4 separate regions of the Homo sapiens genome follow, and regions 1, 3 and 4 are each linked to region 2. Evidence: promoter capture Hi-C in human tissues and cell types (Jung and others, 2019). All regions are on one chromosome and are shown on one strand. Each heading gives the region's core, a stretch centred on a gene start or on the middle of the fragment in contact. The rest is flanking DNA. Distances are from core to core; before and after follow the strand shown.

Region 1 (3,745 bases), core at 550-3,049, 360 kb before region 2:
CGTTTCCACTAATAGAAGGCATTGGAGGGCAGGGACGGGAAAAGGGCAAGTACCCAAGTTCTAGGCCAAAGCTCTAAGTGTTTGTGAAACTGGAACAGCAAAAGCTACTTCTTAAAAACCTTAAGATTTTGTGGGTATCTAGTGAGCGTATATATTTACGGGGTATATGAACTGTTGTGAAACAGGCATGCAATGTGAAATAAGCTCATCATGGGGAATGGGTGCCCATCCCCTCTAGCATTTATCCTTTGAGTTACCAATGCCACTTTTTTTTGGAGGGGTTGGCAGGGAGTACTAAATAAAAAGTTCACATCTCTTGTTAACAAAAGGAATCTACTTTAATGAATAGGAAATTATGCAGCACATCATTGAAAATAAAAGAAGCTCTGTTTTTCAGGCCACTACATCTTATACTAATAAGGAGAGTCACAGGATGCAGAATATTTTCAACTCAGAGGAGTAGAGCAAAGCGCCATTTGCTAAATGATCAAATTAGACAGAGCCTCAAGTGACACTACACTTGACCAGGCTCTGTCTTCAATGCCTGCTTCTCTGTTGTGTTTTCCTGCCATTCAATGTAAAGATAGTAAGACTTTCTTGCTTTGAGATAGTTTTATTACAGGAACATGTTTTTAACCTATCTAAAATATAAACTTCTGTTGTGTACATAAATCTGAATTATTAAATGTATTTTAGATACTTTTTAAAAAGGTTCATAAAACATGATTAGTATAAGGGATACTAAAAATCATGAATTGTGCTTCTGAATTCTATGCTGTATAGCTGAACCTCCATGAATTTTAAGATTTGTGTCAAAAAAGCTATTTGTTCTCTAAAGCATAGAACGCCATGACATCCTCTAGTTTTTGAGATGGTTGATATAATTCAGTGATCCCTTCTGCAGAAGTTCGCCTTTAAAGCTTAACTGTGACATAAAATTGCCGTTGATAATTGGAACATCTGAACACAACGTAGAACTTTTACTTATACTTTAACATGTTGACATTTCATCCTCTGCAAACTGTCTTGGCCTTATAAGGGCTTACTCATTGAGCAATAGATCTTGGTGGTTTGCCTTGGAAATAGAAGACCGGTACTACCCCATCCCAGGCAGAATGACTGGATCCAGAAGGGGTACAACTAGGAAATGCAGAAAGAGGCTTTGTTCCTGGAAGATGCTGTTCTGGTCTAGTTTTAAGTGCTGTCCACATAAGTGTGAAATGAAAATCAATCTTGGGGCCCCCAAATCACTAAGCTAAAGGCAAAAGTCAAGCTGGGAACTGCTTAGGGCAAACCTGATTTTATTCAAAGTCACCGCTCTGCTTGCTTATGAGATAAATCTGTATCAGATTGCCTCTTTTAGAGAGGCTCATTAGAAACGCAAAAGAATGCAACCTTTCGTCTCTACCTATGACCTGGAAGCCCCCTCCCACCTTCCAGTTGTCCCACCTTCACCTGGCATTGTCCCACCTTTCCAGATGGAACCAGTGTACATCTTATACATATTGATTGATGGCTCGTGTGTCCCTAAAATGTATAAAACCAAGCTGTGCCCCTACCACCTTGGGCACAGGTGGTCAGGACTCGCCTGAGGCGGTGTCACAGACGTGCATCCGCAGCCTTGGCAAAATTCACTTTCCTAATTAACTGAGACCTTTCTCTAGATATTCGGGGTTCAAATAAGGATGAATAAGAAGAGGCAGAGTGGGAACAATGCAGTCTTGGGCTAAGGAGGCTTCTTGGAAGCTCTGCTAAAGCGGGGTCTTGCCCTTAGCTGCAGTCTAGAGCCCCCTGGGAAGCTTTCACCAGCCTGGGCCCCACTCTAGATGTTCCGATTTAATTGGTCTGGGGTGGGGCCCGGGAAGTGGCACTTTTACGGACTCTTCAGGTGATTCTAGTTTATACCTGGGGTTAAGAACCACCACATTCTAGCCTCACCATTTGCTGGTTTCAGAAGAAAAAAAAAAAAAAGAAAAATGAAACATTTACCCTAGTGTCTAAGTGTCTAATAAGGAAGAACTTAAAATGTGGGCACCTATGTAAAAATGTCAAAATTGAAAATGCGGAGGGGGCATCTGGAATCAAACTGGTGGCCTCTCGGTCTGCAGTCTTATGCTCTAACCCTGAGCTATACCCCTTCCTGCTGCTGTGGGGGTCAATTAATGCCTTTGACTTGTGCGGTCACACCCAGATGACCAGTCACCTGTGTGTTGCCACTTCACAATGGAAGCTCCTAGGAGCTGCCAGGTCTACCTCAGTGAAAACTCATTGACCTTGTGCATAGCAAGAGGCAGTCCCCGCTCCTCAGATAACCCCCGTGCCTGTGTCTTCCCTGCCTTGAGTCCTTAGTTATGGGCAGCAGGCTGGAAAAGCACTGCCAGCAGCCACTAGAATGGCCTTGAGAGTCATCCTCCAGTAACTGTTTATGGTGGGCACATACAAGAGAAACTTTGTGTGACTGAGGTGTCTGTTCTAAAACACTTAATGACAGAGTTGGGCCTGGCTCTCCTGGTCCAGTGTTCCAACACAACTACAATCTAGGACAGAAGGTGATTCTTCCAGCTTTCACTTCTTCAATTAATATTAATGGAGAATGATAGAGAAGGAGCGACTCCAAGAAATAGTGAGAAGGCGGTAGCTGAGTAGATTTTGGAATCCCCGAAAGCCTTAAGAGGGCCAGCGTTAACATAGTTTCAAGGACCAGAATATGTTGCTAGACAACAACCCCACTTGATTCATTTTTGTCTTTAAGTAACAGGGTGTTTTCCTGTCATCCAGAGTGGAGTGCAGTGAAACAATTATAGCTCACTTCAGCTTCCCAAGTAGGTGGGACCACAGGTGTGTACCATCATACCCAGCTAATGTATTTTATTTTTTGTAGAGGTGAAGTCTCACTATGTTGCCCAGGCTGGTCTTAAACTCCTGGTCTCAAGCGATCCTCCTGCCTTGACCTCCCAAAGTGCTGGGATGAGAGACATGAGCCACTGTGTCCAGCCTCCCACGTGACCTTCCTGATGGCAGGCAGAACCCTGTCCTTTCTAGAAGGAAGACTTGGAGGAACACTTGGGTTAACTCCTTTTCACCTCCTCAGCTGTGCCAAGGCCCCGCCTCTGCTCTTGTCATAGGAGCTGGTAAACTGTCTCTTCTTCAAACTGCCTTTCTTTCCTGCTGGAATTTTCTCCTTTACCCACAGGCCTTTGCCTTGTAGCCCTGGGCACCTTCTCAGAAGGCAGCCAGCAGCCAGCCACTCCTCTCCGCTCCTGGCCTGACAGCCTCGGGAAACACTGACTTCCGCAGTGATTTATATGATAACGTTAAAATCCTCTGGGTTTCCCTTTTCGGCAGTAGGGTGGACTGCCAAGGAAGATGCGGAGGATTGATGAGCCTGCAAGAGCACAGAACTCCCCACTGGCAGGGCCTGGGCAGCAGCCTGGCAGGCAGATCACCTGAGGTCGGGAGTTTGAGACCGGCCCGAGCAACATGGAGAAACCCCATCTCTACTGAAAATACAAAATTAGCCGGGCCTGGTGACTCTTGCCTGTAATCCCAGCTACTCGGGAGGCTGAGGCAGGAGAATTGCTTAAACCCGTGAGGCGGAGGTTGCGGTGAGCCAAGATCGCGCCATCACACTCCAGCCTGGGCAACAAGAGCGAAGTCCAGGAAGTCGCAGAAGACCCTGGACATCGCTGGATTCTGGAGGCCCGGATGTCAGTAGTACAATGATGAATGGGCATTTCCAAGAAGA
Region 2 (3,470 bases), core at 396-2,895:
CACGCCCGGCTAATTTTTGTATTTTTAGTAGAGACCGGGTTTCACCACATTGGCCAGACTAGTCTTGAACTCCTGACCTCGTGATCCGCCCTCCTCGGCCTCCTAAAGTGCTGGGATTACAGGCATGAGCCACTGCGCCTGGCCTGTGGTGGACCTTTAAGGCTTCTTCCTAACAAGGTCTACTGACGACATGTAGGTAATTGTGGAGTGACCTGGCAGGAAGAACTGTGGCAGAATCCTCTCGCCGGACTCTAACACTAACTAGATCTTGTGGAAAAGCCAAGTCTTTGACTGGCTCAGCCTAGCTTATAGGAGTCAGATGAGGTTAATATTGTAAACATTTGTGTCTTGTCTTCCCAATTCAACTGTTAACTTCCTTGAAAGCAAATACTGTGTTCTCTAAGTCTCCCAATCTCTCCGTTCTTAGTTCTTAACGCACTTTCTACAAGAATCAAATATAGCGCACCCTGCTCATGGTCAAATTTTCCCCACAGAATTTCCTTAGCCCTCCATTCTCACAAAGATCTAACATGATTCTCGAAGTGTTTCTAGACCAAGGAACACTTCATTAAAAGTCAATTCAATTCCAGCTGCCCCTTCCGTTGCAAACCCTCTGGTGTTGTTAAATTAACCACTACTTTGAAACAGTATGGGAACAGTATGAGAATGTCGGAGCTGGAAGGAAACTTAAAGCCTTGGAGATCATCTAGCAACTACTCCAACACTCTCGATTTACAGTTAAGAAAACGAAAGAGACCCAGAGAAGCGAACACAGTTGCCTAAAATCACCCAAATGGACAGCTGAAAGCTTCGTGACTCCACAAATAGGATTTTCCTCACACCAAACTCCGTATCTTGACATTCCCAGAATGGGGATGGTCGGTGGGCTGGGAGGGGGGTGTTGGGGGGGGGGTGAAGGAGAGAGTTTGGGCAGCTCTACAAACAAAATGCAGCAACTGCACTGTAGATAACATCCGTCCCCAAGGAGAAGCAGCCCAGGCTGACTTCAACCTGTGGCTGCAACCCCCAGACAGAAATCTGCAGCACTGGAAAAACCGACAACACATCGGACCGAAGAGGAGGTGGTCGCAGAGAGGCAAGTCCTGGGGTCTCCCGGGCAGCGGGAGAGCTCACTCGTAGCGACGGAGACCGTTTCCAATCTGGAAACACTCCAACCTGGGAACGGGCTCTTTTGGCACGAAAGAGAAAATGTGTGGGCAGGGTCACAAATCCACCAACCTAAAGCAAGCGTCAGAGAAGTTTCTGGGCAAGGGCGCACGGCGCCGAGGCTCCGACCCCGCTGCAGAAGGAAGCGGAGGGAAAAAAGGGCAGAGCACTGGGGTCGCGAAGAGGAGGGTCCGCGTTCACCCGCGCCAACGGCAGCCCCGGGAAACCAAGACCCCGGCGGCGTCCAAACCGCGAAGCCCCGCCCCCGGCAGGGGACTCCGCCATCCCCAACGCGCCCTCGAGCCAGCGCGCCGGTGCCTCTTTACCCGAGCAGGCGCCGACTCCGCCATGGCTCCAGTCGCCCCTCAACACCCAGACCCCGCCTCGGAGCCCCCGTGCTGCGTTCCTGTCCGCTCGGCGCCCCAGAGCCTGTTGGAAGCCGCCGCCGCCGCCGCCGTGTTGATGCCAGGTGCATTCTGGGAGCAGCGACCTCCCCGGCACAAGACCGGCTCCAGCCGCTCTTCCTCACTGTGCAGGCTTCCCATTGTGCCCCCGTGCGGCGGGAGGGAGAACGCTGCTTGGCACTCCCGGCCAGAGTGCGGGCACCAGGAGGGCTCAGTCACTCAAAAGTCAAGACCAGGTTCCGCGTTTCAGGCAAAGCCACGGGATCCTGCTGTCTTCCGTATGCCCAGCACTCTGCTAAATGCTTTGAGGGATTCAAAAATGTGTACAACTCAGACTTTTTGCTGAGGAAAGAACATGTAATGTTGTTGGGGAAAAGAAATATGGTTCCAAAAGGCAAGTGATTTTATTCCAAAAGTTCACCTGTTATTTGGCTTTTTAGAAACTGGGAACAGTTTCCATATCAACAGTGTGGAGCGTGGGGTCAGGCCCAGGCCAGCCCTCTGTAGCCTGTTAATTATGGTAATCATGTGCCTTGGAAAGTCCAAGACAACCCTGATTTCAAATATTTCCAGTCCTCATGCTACATGTAAGACGATGTGTCTGGAATTTTTGTTGGAAAGCACGGCCACATGACCATTTAATCGCCATGTACTTAATCCCCAATACCAGCAACACTACGGCAACCATAGCTGCCTAATTTATACCATTGTCTCTCTGGAGACAAGCAATGAACTTCCACTTCACAGGATAGGCGTGAAGTGTTTCCTCTGAGAACGAAACTTTTTTTTTTTGAGATGGAGTTTCGCTCTTGTTGCCCAGGCTGGAGTGCAATGGCGCAATCTCGGCTCACTGCAACCTCCACCTCCCGGGCTCAAGCGATTCTTCTGCCTCAGCCTCCCTAGTAGCTGGGATTACAGGCATGTGCCACCACGCCTGGCTAATTTTGTATTTTTAGTAGAGACGGGGTTTCCCCATGTTGGTCAGGCTGGTCTCAAACTCCCGACCTCAGGTGATCCGCCCACCTCAGCCTCCCAAAGCGCCGGGATTACAGGTGTGAGCCACCCCACCCGGCGGAGAACGAAACTTTTAAGATCATGACTGGCTCCTTCCTCACATGCAGGGCTCAGTTCAGATTCTACATCCTCAGAGAGATATCCCCAGTCCCCCCTTTCTACAGCCCCACACCATCCTCCATCTCAATACTCAATCTCGTTACCCTGCTGGAAATTTTTCATACCATTTATCACCATCTGAAGTAATCTCTCTTTTTCACTCATTTACATATTAATTATCTGTATCTCTTCCACTGAAATGTCTGTCTACTGTATCCTCCATTTGTTGTACACAGAAGTGTTCATATTTGTAAATGATTGAATGGTGAATCAGAGTGTAAGGATATGAAATGTCATCTCAAACAGAGGCATTATTTCCAGGGCAACTAGATCAACGGGCACGTCACTGAATCATTAATAAATCTAGAGAAAGAATGGGCCAGGCTGAAGAAACCGGTCAGTCAGGGAGATCCTGTCCAGAGGGTCTGACCTAATCTCTCAGACCAACAAACTCTTGGTGTCAGATACAGAAAAAAAAAAAAATGTGTCATGGGTGAGGTGGCTCATGCCTGTAATCCTAGCACTTTGGGAGGGCAAGGCAGGAGGATCACTGGAGTTTGAGACCAACCTGAGCAAATAGGCAGACCCTGTCTCTACAAAATTAAAATTAAAATTAAAATGAGCCAGGAGTAGTGGTGCACACCTGTAGTCTCAGCTACTCAAGAGGTTGAGGTGGAAGAATCATTTGAACCCAGTAGTTCAAGGCTGCAGTGAATCACGATCGCACCACTGCACTCCAGCGTAGGCAACAGACCAAGATCTTGTCTTTAAAAATAAAATAAAAAT
Region 3 (3,574 bases), core at 734-3,233, 350 kb before region 2:
GGTCAGTGATTAAGAGAGTGGAACTTCAGGAATTTTAAGGTAGGTTTATGGAAGCATTTGGAAAACTCAGTTTATCCCAAATCACCAGCTCTCCCTAATCTCCAAGCCTGCCCCTTCTTCCCGCAAAAGCCGACCAGCCCAGATGGAAGGGTTTTCACTGCAAGAGATTGGTTTCCCCATCCTCATTGTCCCTTGACTTACAGTGAGAGTAAGATCTCAGTTGAGCCTGGGCACCAGTTGCTGGGAGGCAAAGACTCACACACCAAAATCATTTCCAACTGGCTAATGTCTGTCAGCAAAAACTTAAAGAGCATGTGTGGATGTAGATTCTTGGAATACTTTATAAAGTAGAAAGGGTATAACTTTAAATGAGTCTGAATTTTTTTATTAGGAGTGTTCCCAATTAAAATTCTATTTAAGATACCATAGCTGGAGCAGCTGGGATAAACCTGTTTGCTCAGTTGGTGGACCTAAGCCTGGATTCACAGAAGGCCAATTCTTTTTTTTTTTTTTTTTTTGAGACGGAGTCACGCTCTGTCTCCCAGGCTGGAGTGCAGTGGCGCGATCTCGGCTCACTGCAAGCTCTGCCTCCCGGGTTCACGCCATTCTCCTGCCTCAGCCTCCCGAGTAGCTGGGACTACAGGGGCCCGCCACCATGCCCGGCTTATTTTTTGTAATTTTAGTAGAGACGGGGTTTCACCATGTTAGCCAGCATGGTCTCGATCTCCTGACCTCGTGATCTGCCCGCCTCGGCATCCCAAAGTGCTGGGATTACAGGCATGAGCCACCGCGCCCAGCCACAGGAGGCCAATTCTAAATGCATTTGAGATACTAGGAATTTCTTGCTATAATGTAGAAAGAATACATTGGCTTCAGGGGGTAGGTAAGCTGGAGTGGATTTATCACACGTGACTTGCCCTGGCTTGAAAAATACCTAGGTGTGTGGAGCTTCTACATTCATGAAAAGAATCCTGGTAGCTGTTCTCTGTAGACAAAAATGCTGGTGGGAGTGATGATAGCGGAAAGGAAGCTCCTGATTTCAGTGGGGCTAGGAGGATCGTAGGGTGTCAGAGGCCAAGCAGTGGACACTTTACCACAGAATGTTATTCCATGGTCTCTGCCACACAGGTCTTGGCTGTGACTCATCAGTGGGAGGATTCTAGGCCTGACAATGGGGAGCCCATCATGGTCCCCTAGACGTGTAGACCTGAGCTACCACCATAGCCGGCACAATGGAGGTTCCTGGCCTCTGACCCATTCCCCAGGTCTGAATCTGCTCAAAGAACCTGCCTCCCCTGATGACGAGAAAGCCAAGCTTGAGAAAAGTACTCTGCCAAAATACCCAGTCATGGACAGTGAATCCTCCTGCCAGATTTCCCATAATAGCCCCTTCAGCCATTTGCCTGGAAACTGCACTGAGGAGTGGGAAATATCCACATAATTGGGGATTATTGGTGGCTCTGCTGCATCTGTGAAGCTCCTGGAGGTTTGGTATTTTTGGGAACATCAGAATATTCCAGAAAAGACCACATCCTGCATCTTGCTTTGTTCAGCTACCACCACCATCAGAGGGGGCTCGAGAGACCACAGTTACTACCCATGGTGTGCTCCTCTCACCCAAAAGGCTACAGACTGCAAGGTTTTCATCACATAATAATGAGATGAGCCTTAGGGGACAGACCAAAAGGTTCCAATCAGGGTGCCCTTTACGGATTCTTATTTTTATTTACTGATTTTGGAATCTGACACCAGCTTCCTTTCCCTTGCTGGAGCCCATGATCTGTATCTGTCTGCATGGAGGAGAGAGAAGAGGTTGATGGGATCAGGTCAGTCCTCTGGGTAGTCCCAGCTGACTTCCTCTATCATCTCGCTCCTTGCCCACAGTCTCACAGAGCCTCCCAGAATCCTGCTTTTCCCCAGTCCTTGGTCTGGGTAGGCCAGGGTGTGAGTCTGCAGCAGCCCCAGATGGGAAATCCAGAACCTGAGGGCCCAGAGCCAAAGTCCAGGGTGCAGCACACTTAGAAATCTAAGCTCATTAGATTTCTCATACCTGTTGGAGGCGGGCATGAAACTGTGGCTGGTTCAGGTTCTCCTGTGCCACAGTGGAAGCTGGGTGCTGTGGAGAATACAGCAGGACTTAGAGACATGGCCCAGCCCTCTCTTGGGAATCACATGGATGTGCCTGGGGAGATTCTGGAGAACTCTGCAAAAGTCCTGGAGTGGTATCCAGAGGGCTGCAGGAGACAGATGTGCCTTACAAACTTTAAAACCCATGAAATCACCTGAGGGCTATTGAGTCTGCACTTCAGAGATGCTGTGGGTCAGAGATTAGATAGGCTGTGTCATTTTTTTTGCAGGGTGGATTGGGTGGAGCTTATGACCCAGGACCCACTTTGGTGATTAAAAAGTAGAACAGTGTAGGGGGCACCTGGATTTGAACCAGAGACCTCTTGATCTGCAGTCAAATGCTCTACCCCTGAGCTATACCCCCAGTCATAGGTAGACAGTGTAATTAACACCCTTTTCATGTGTCAGCACAGCAAGAGCAAGACCGAGCTCTTCCGGCTTGGATGTCTACGCCGGTTGTTTCTCTGAATTCTGGCCTCCCTCCTGTCACTGATACTTCTTTCTCCATCACTTTTGTGTGTACCTGGTTAAGGACACCCTGGTAGCCTTGTTGAGCTTTATAAATGGAGAGACCCTTCAAGTCATCCAGATAATTCTCTTAGACAGTAGCAATTGTTGAGCATCATGTGAGGTGTGCTAGGCTGGGGATGGAACTCTAACTAGGTGACACCACCTTCTCCAGCACTGAAAGGAAACCAGAGCCTGTGTCTGGAGACTTGTATTTGACGTAGAATACTGTTCATGATAATTTGTCAAGGGAAAAGCAAATTGCTTTTGTTAAAAAAAAATACTCAAAAAATAATACTTAGTCTTTTAAAAATGTGGCACATATTCACTGTGGAATACTACGCAGCCATAAAAAAGAATGAGATCATTTCCTTTGGAGCAACATGGATGGACCTGTAAGGGCATTAGCCTTAGCCACTAACACAGGAACAGAAAATCAAATAATGCATGTTCTCACTTACAAGTGGGAACTAAATGATGAGAACACATGGACACAGAGAGGGGAATGCCACACACTGGCACCTACTTGAGGGTGGATGGTGGAAGGAGAGAAGATCAGAAAAAATACATATGCATAGTACGTGGCTGATGAAATAATCTGTACACCAAGCCTACATGACATGAGCTTACCTATATGACAAACCTGCATATGTACCCCTGAACCTAAAATAAAAACAAAAAAAAAAAGAAAACATAGAAAAGATGATTCTCTACAGAGTATCACTTGTGGTAATTTATCCTTCAAAAATATTCCTATAATTGCATGAAGACACATGTATGTGGAGATTCATGATAGCGGTTTTTTAATTCCTCACAGCAAACACTGGAGACCATCAAAATATCCATTGGCAGGGAATTGGTTAAAACCAGGCTTTCTCTCTTACCCTGGAGGGGTTGAGGAGAAGGTGAAGATGCAGAGAAGCAGAGGATGCTCAGGGAA
Region 4 (3,688 bases), core at 858-3,357, 380 kb before region 2:
AGTATTTATTCCACTTCAAACACAGATGGGGATGAGTTACAGCTGCCCCCCGAAAACAGCCCAAACCTCCAGGCCCAGGACCTCGGGCGGCAGAAGTGCCTGTTCGGCCGCGCCGGGGCCCAGCTGGGCGAGGGGGCCACACTGCCCGCGGTCACCGGGGAGGGCCCTGCCTGGAAGCCCCTGCTTGCCCGCGGGCGCGGCCAGGCGGGTCTTATGAGGGGGACTCTTTCGGTAACCGAGTCCCTCGGCCTGGGTCGCGGGGCCAGCGCAGTGACTGCGCGCGCACACGCGGCAGTCGGGGAAGGGGCGAGGGGTCGGCCAGGGGTCGCGGGGTCAGCTCCCGGGCGCGGGCCAGGCGGGGTCGCGCCTGCAGTTCGCCTCCGGAGCTGCAGGTGGGGCTGTGCGGCTGCCTGCCTCCAGGAAGCCTCATGTGCCTTCGTCGGCCGCGCCGGCTCCCAGGATACAGTGCGGACCGGCCGGGCGCTAAAGGCGTTGACGCAACTGCGGGCGGCGCAGGGCAGGGGCAGTCAGGGAGCAGCGGCGGCAGAGACAGGGCTGGGCGGGCGCCGCCTGCGGAGAGCACCGGGAGGCGGGCCCTGCGTGGGGCCGCGCGCAGCAGCGGCGACGACTTTATCTGGGCCGCGGGGGACAGCGCAGGGCCATGGAGGAGGCGGCCGCAGCTCCGGTAAGGGCGACCAGCGCGCGCACGAACTCGCGGCCTGGATTCCCCGGGCGACCCGGGCCCGGCACACGGGGGCTGCGGGAGCCGAGCCGTACTACCGCGCCTGGGGCTCCGGGGAACAGGGCCGCGGCGTCTGCCGGGGCCTACTGCGCTTGCCAGCCGGGCCCCCCACTCCGGGCCGAGCCCGAGCGCTGGCGGAACGGTTGTCCCCGCCCCGGGCCGCCCCACGCCAAGATCCTTGGCCCCTCCGGGGCTTCCTGCCCCCGCCCCAGCCGCTGAACCCTACATCTGCGTCCCCCCACCCGAGGCTCTTTTCTCTGCTTGGCGCTCGGCCTGTGGGTCCCTCCCCCAGCTCCCCCCAGCGGCTTAGTGGTACCTGGGAGTTGTGAGGCTTCGAATCCGCGTATACCGACACCCCTTACGTGCCCAGCTCCCCAGGGTCGGCGCGGAAGGGAATATAGAGCCAGGTACTGCACCAAGTCCTGTTGAGGCCTTAGTCTGTCCTTCTGTCCTCACAGCAAGCCTGTGGGATGGGTACTGGTGTTATCTCTGTCATGCAAAAGAAAAACCTGGGGCTTAGAGAAGTTAACTTGCCCAGGCTTGCACACCTGGAAGTGTGAAAAGACACACAGTGGCTGTGTGTTCAAGGACCAGGCAGGCAGGTACGCGGGCAATAATTGTGCAAAATAGGAAGGGGTGAGTGTTGGCGCCCAGGTGGAAGCTTGCGGTGGGCTCCGGGGGAAGGAGTGTCAGGGGGCCTCTTGGTACCGCTGTCCACCCCTCCTGGCCTGATGCTCTGCGCCTCTGTGATTTGAGCCGGGCTTTTAGGGACGGCTAGGATTTCAGGCCCAGCTAGACCGGTGGTGCTTTCAGGGAGGGAGGAGTGCCTGGGCAAAGGCGCAGAGAGACGGGACAGTGCAGGGCGTGTGCAGGCACAGAAAGGAGTCCATGAGCCTGGAGAAGATGGTTTTGGTTTGGAGGCAGTGGGAAAGGAGTCTGCAGAGAGAGACTAGGAAGGGGCTTGCATGCCAGGACTTCATCCTGCGGGTGGGCGGCCAGTGAGGGATCGGGCTCCTCTTACCATCAGCTCCTCTCAAGCAAAGAGTTTCGGCTTCCTGGCAGGAGTCCAAGGACAGCCCCACATATTCCAGCCACTTGTCAGTAAGAAGCTGGGCTGGAGTGAGCAGCGCACAGTCGACACCTCCCACCACATAGTGTGAAGGCCTTACACAGGGTTTCCTGGCCCCATCAGAATTGTGAGAAAACCATGTACTTTATTATCCATGAGTAAAAGACTAATATTTTCTTAATAAAGTAGTTTATGCAGAGGTCCCTTTCATGCCACACAAAGACTGTAATAATGCACGTGGAGGATGGGTAGGATTTCAGTGGATGGGGAGCTGGTGACCAGTTGAAAGGAAGCTTCTGGAGTAAACTCTTGGCGTTCGACTTCACGTGGCAGGGATTGATCTAAGAAAGGAGAGGTGAGGGAACAGTGGCCTTAGGTGGAGGGCAGACTCAAACCCAGAACCAAGCGGGCCCACCCAGGTACTTGTAGGACCACCTACTCCTTGAGAGCAAGACTCGCCATCCACATTGGGGTTTTCGCCTAGAAACAGTTCAGCTTGTCCAGAACCTCCCAGCCTTGAAGACCTTTTAGAGTCCTACCTTCTTTGGGTCCTGTTTCCCTCCAAACAGCCAGACAGGCCCTTGAGTACTGTCCTGGAGAAGTTTTTTTCTGCTTCTGCTCAAACTCTCCTTTTGTCTCTATTTTTTGAGGTATCTATTCACATTGTAGTTCTCAGTGACTTTCCCTGAGTGCATCCACACTGGTTTCTAGTAGCCACTTCTTCATTTTGCAAACAATCACCAACCTTTTGTTGAGGAATTATTTTGCAGAATGTTGTAAGGGGGCGTCGATCCTTGGGCATGGATACCAGGAGCTTCTCTCTGCCCTATAGGTCCCACATTCAGATGTGGGTGGCTCAAATAGTCCAGCTCCCCACCCAAGGCAAAATGTGCTCATTCTTCCTTGTCCCCAGCTGCCAGTCACTGATACACCATGTGAATGTTTCCAAGGACAGGGAAGCCCCTCATCTCGAATTAAGATGGTTTTTGCCCATATATAAGTGTAAGTTTGTGGCATATGTCCATTTTCCTCACCAGAGTGTATGTCACCACTCCTAGTACAGCTACAAAAATGATTGAAGCCATCATTTTTACCTTGAGGAGATGGGAATTGGGAAAGAGAAAGAATCTTGTAGGGCTCATGCAGTGTCAAAAAACTCTGGACTGATGGAGATTTGCAGTCATGGGGATTTTAGCTTGTGGGGAGGGGCAGATGGGAAGGGGACAAAATGAGACTGTCCTGGGGGAAGAGGAACTGGCCATTAGATTTTTATGTTTATTAAAAGGGGACATAAGATGCTTTAAAAAAAATGAGCAGTACTCTTGTTTGTGCGGTTTCAGTGAACGAGCTGTGGTTTTTTTTTTTTTTGGCTGGGTCATCATCAGTAGACAGTTCCTGTGTAATCATGAGGGGAGGTGCAGGCTGGGCTCTAGTAAATCTGCAGTTTACCATTTCCCCACTAAAATACCGAGCAATGCTAAGTCACACTATACGTAGCAAAACTGCACTGAGTGCCAGGCATGTGTCAAGGACCGTGGTGTGAAAAGGTGCAATACCATGTTCAGGGAGCCAACAGTGTAGGCGTGGGTAGGAAATTACTGTGTAGGGTGATAAGCACCGTGATAAGGGTCTGCATTGTGCTGCAGAGGCCTGGAGTAAAGGCACCCACCCAGACATAGACCTAACATACCCAAGCAGGTGATGGCCAACCTGAGATCTGGCATGTGGTATAGGATAGCCCCACTTGTCCACACATATGGACTCCCAGCCCAACTCCCCCGTGCCTAGGGAGAGAGGGGCTCAGTGAAGACAGTGGATGGAATGAATGATGCCAGTTTCTCTTTTGTTTCTGAAAGATTTCTCCGTGGACGATGGCA

What was found. The method cuts DNA at HindIII sites, captures the fragments that hold promoters and counts their contacts. A contact is called where the count stands out against the background at its distance.
Region 1: a contact is called between a fragment that was not itself captured here and the fragment with the promoter of ZNF212 in region 2, in 1 of the 25 tissues and cell types used here (dorsolateral prefrontal cortex).
Region 3: a fragment that was not itself captured here is called in contact with the fragment with the promoter of ZNF212 in region 2 in 1 of the 25 tissues and cell types used here (dorsolateral prefrontal cortex).
Region 4: a contact is called between a fragment that was not itself captured here and the fragment with the promoter of ZNF212 in region 2, in 3 of the 25 tissues and cell types used here (dorsolateral prefrontal cortex, hippocampus and spleen).

The regions. Positions count from the first base shown.
Region 1 is chr7:149,602,038-149,605,782 of GRCh38, reverse strand. It overlaps the pseudogene ZNF767P. Among named protein-coding and RNA genes, the nearest start is that of TRS-AGA5-1, 4.5 kb to the left of the region's middle. The HindIII fragment of the contact is 3,579 bases long and covers 10-3,588 here.
Region 2 is chr7:149,237,826-149,241,295 of GRCh38, reverse strand. It overlaps ZNF212 (zinc finger protein 212), which reads right to left and starts at 1,645. Exons shown (of 5, transcript NM_012256.4): 1 at 1,494-1,645. The coding sequence starts at 1,517. RefSeq lists an enhancer at 1,584-1,878. The HindIII fragment of the contact is 24,745 bases long and covers 1-3,470 here.
Region 3 is chr7:149,583,642-149,587,215 of GRCh38, reverse strand. It overlaps TRC-GCA15-1 (tRNA-Cys (anticodon GCA) 15-1), which reads right to left and starts at 2,491; the gene lies at 2,420-2,491. It also overlaps the pseudogene ZNF767P. The HindIII fragment of the contact is 5,704 bases long and covers 1-3,574 here.
Region 4 is chr7:149,621,539-149,625,226 of GRCh38, reverse strand. It overlaps the pseudogene ZNF767P. Among named protein-coding and RNA genes, the nearest start is that of TRC-GCA19-1, 10 kb to the right of the region's middle. RefSeq lists silencers at 80-829, 850-949. The HindIII fragment of the contact is 3,946 bases long and covers 135-3,688 here.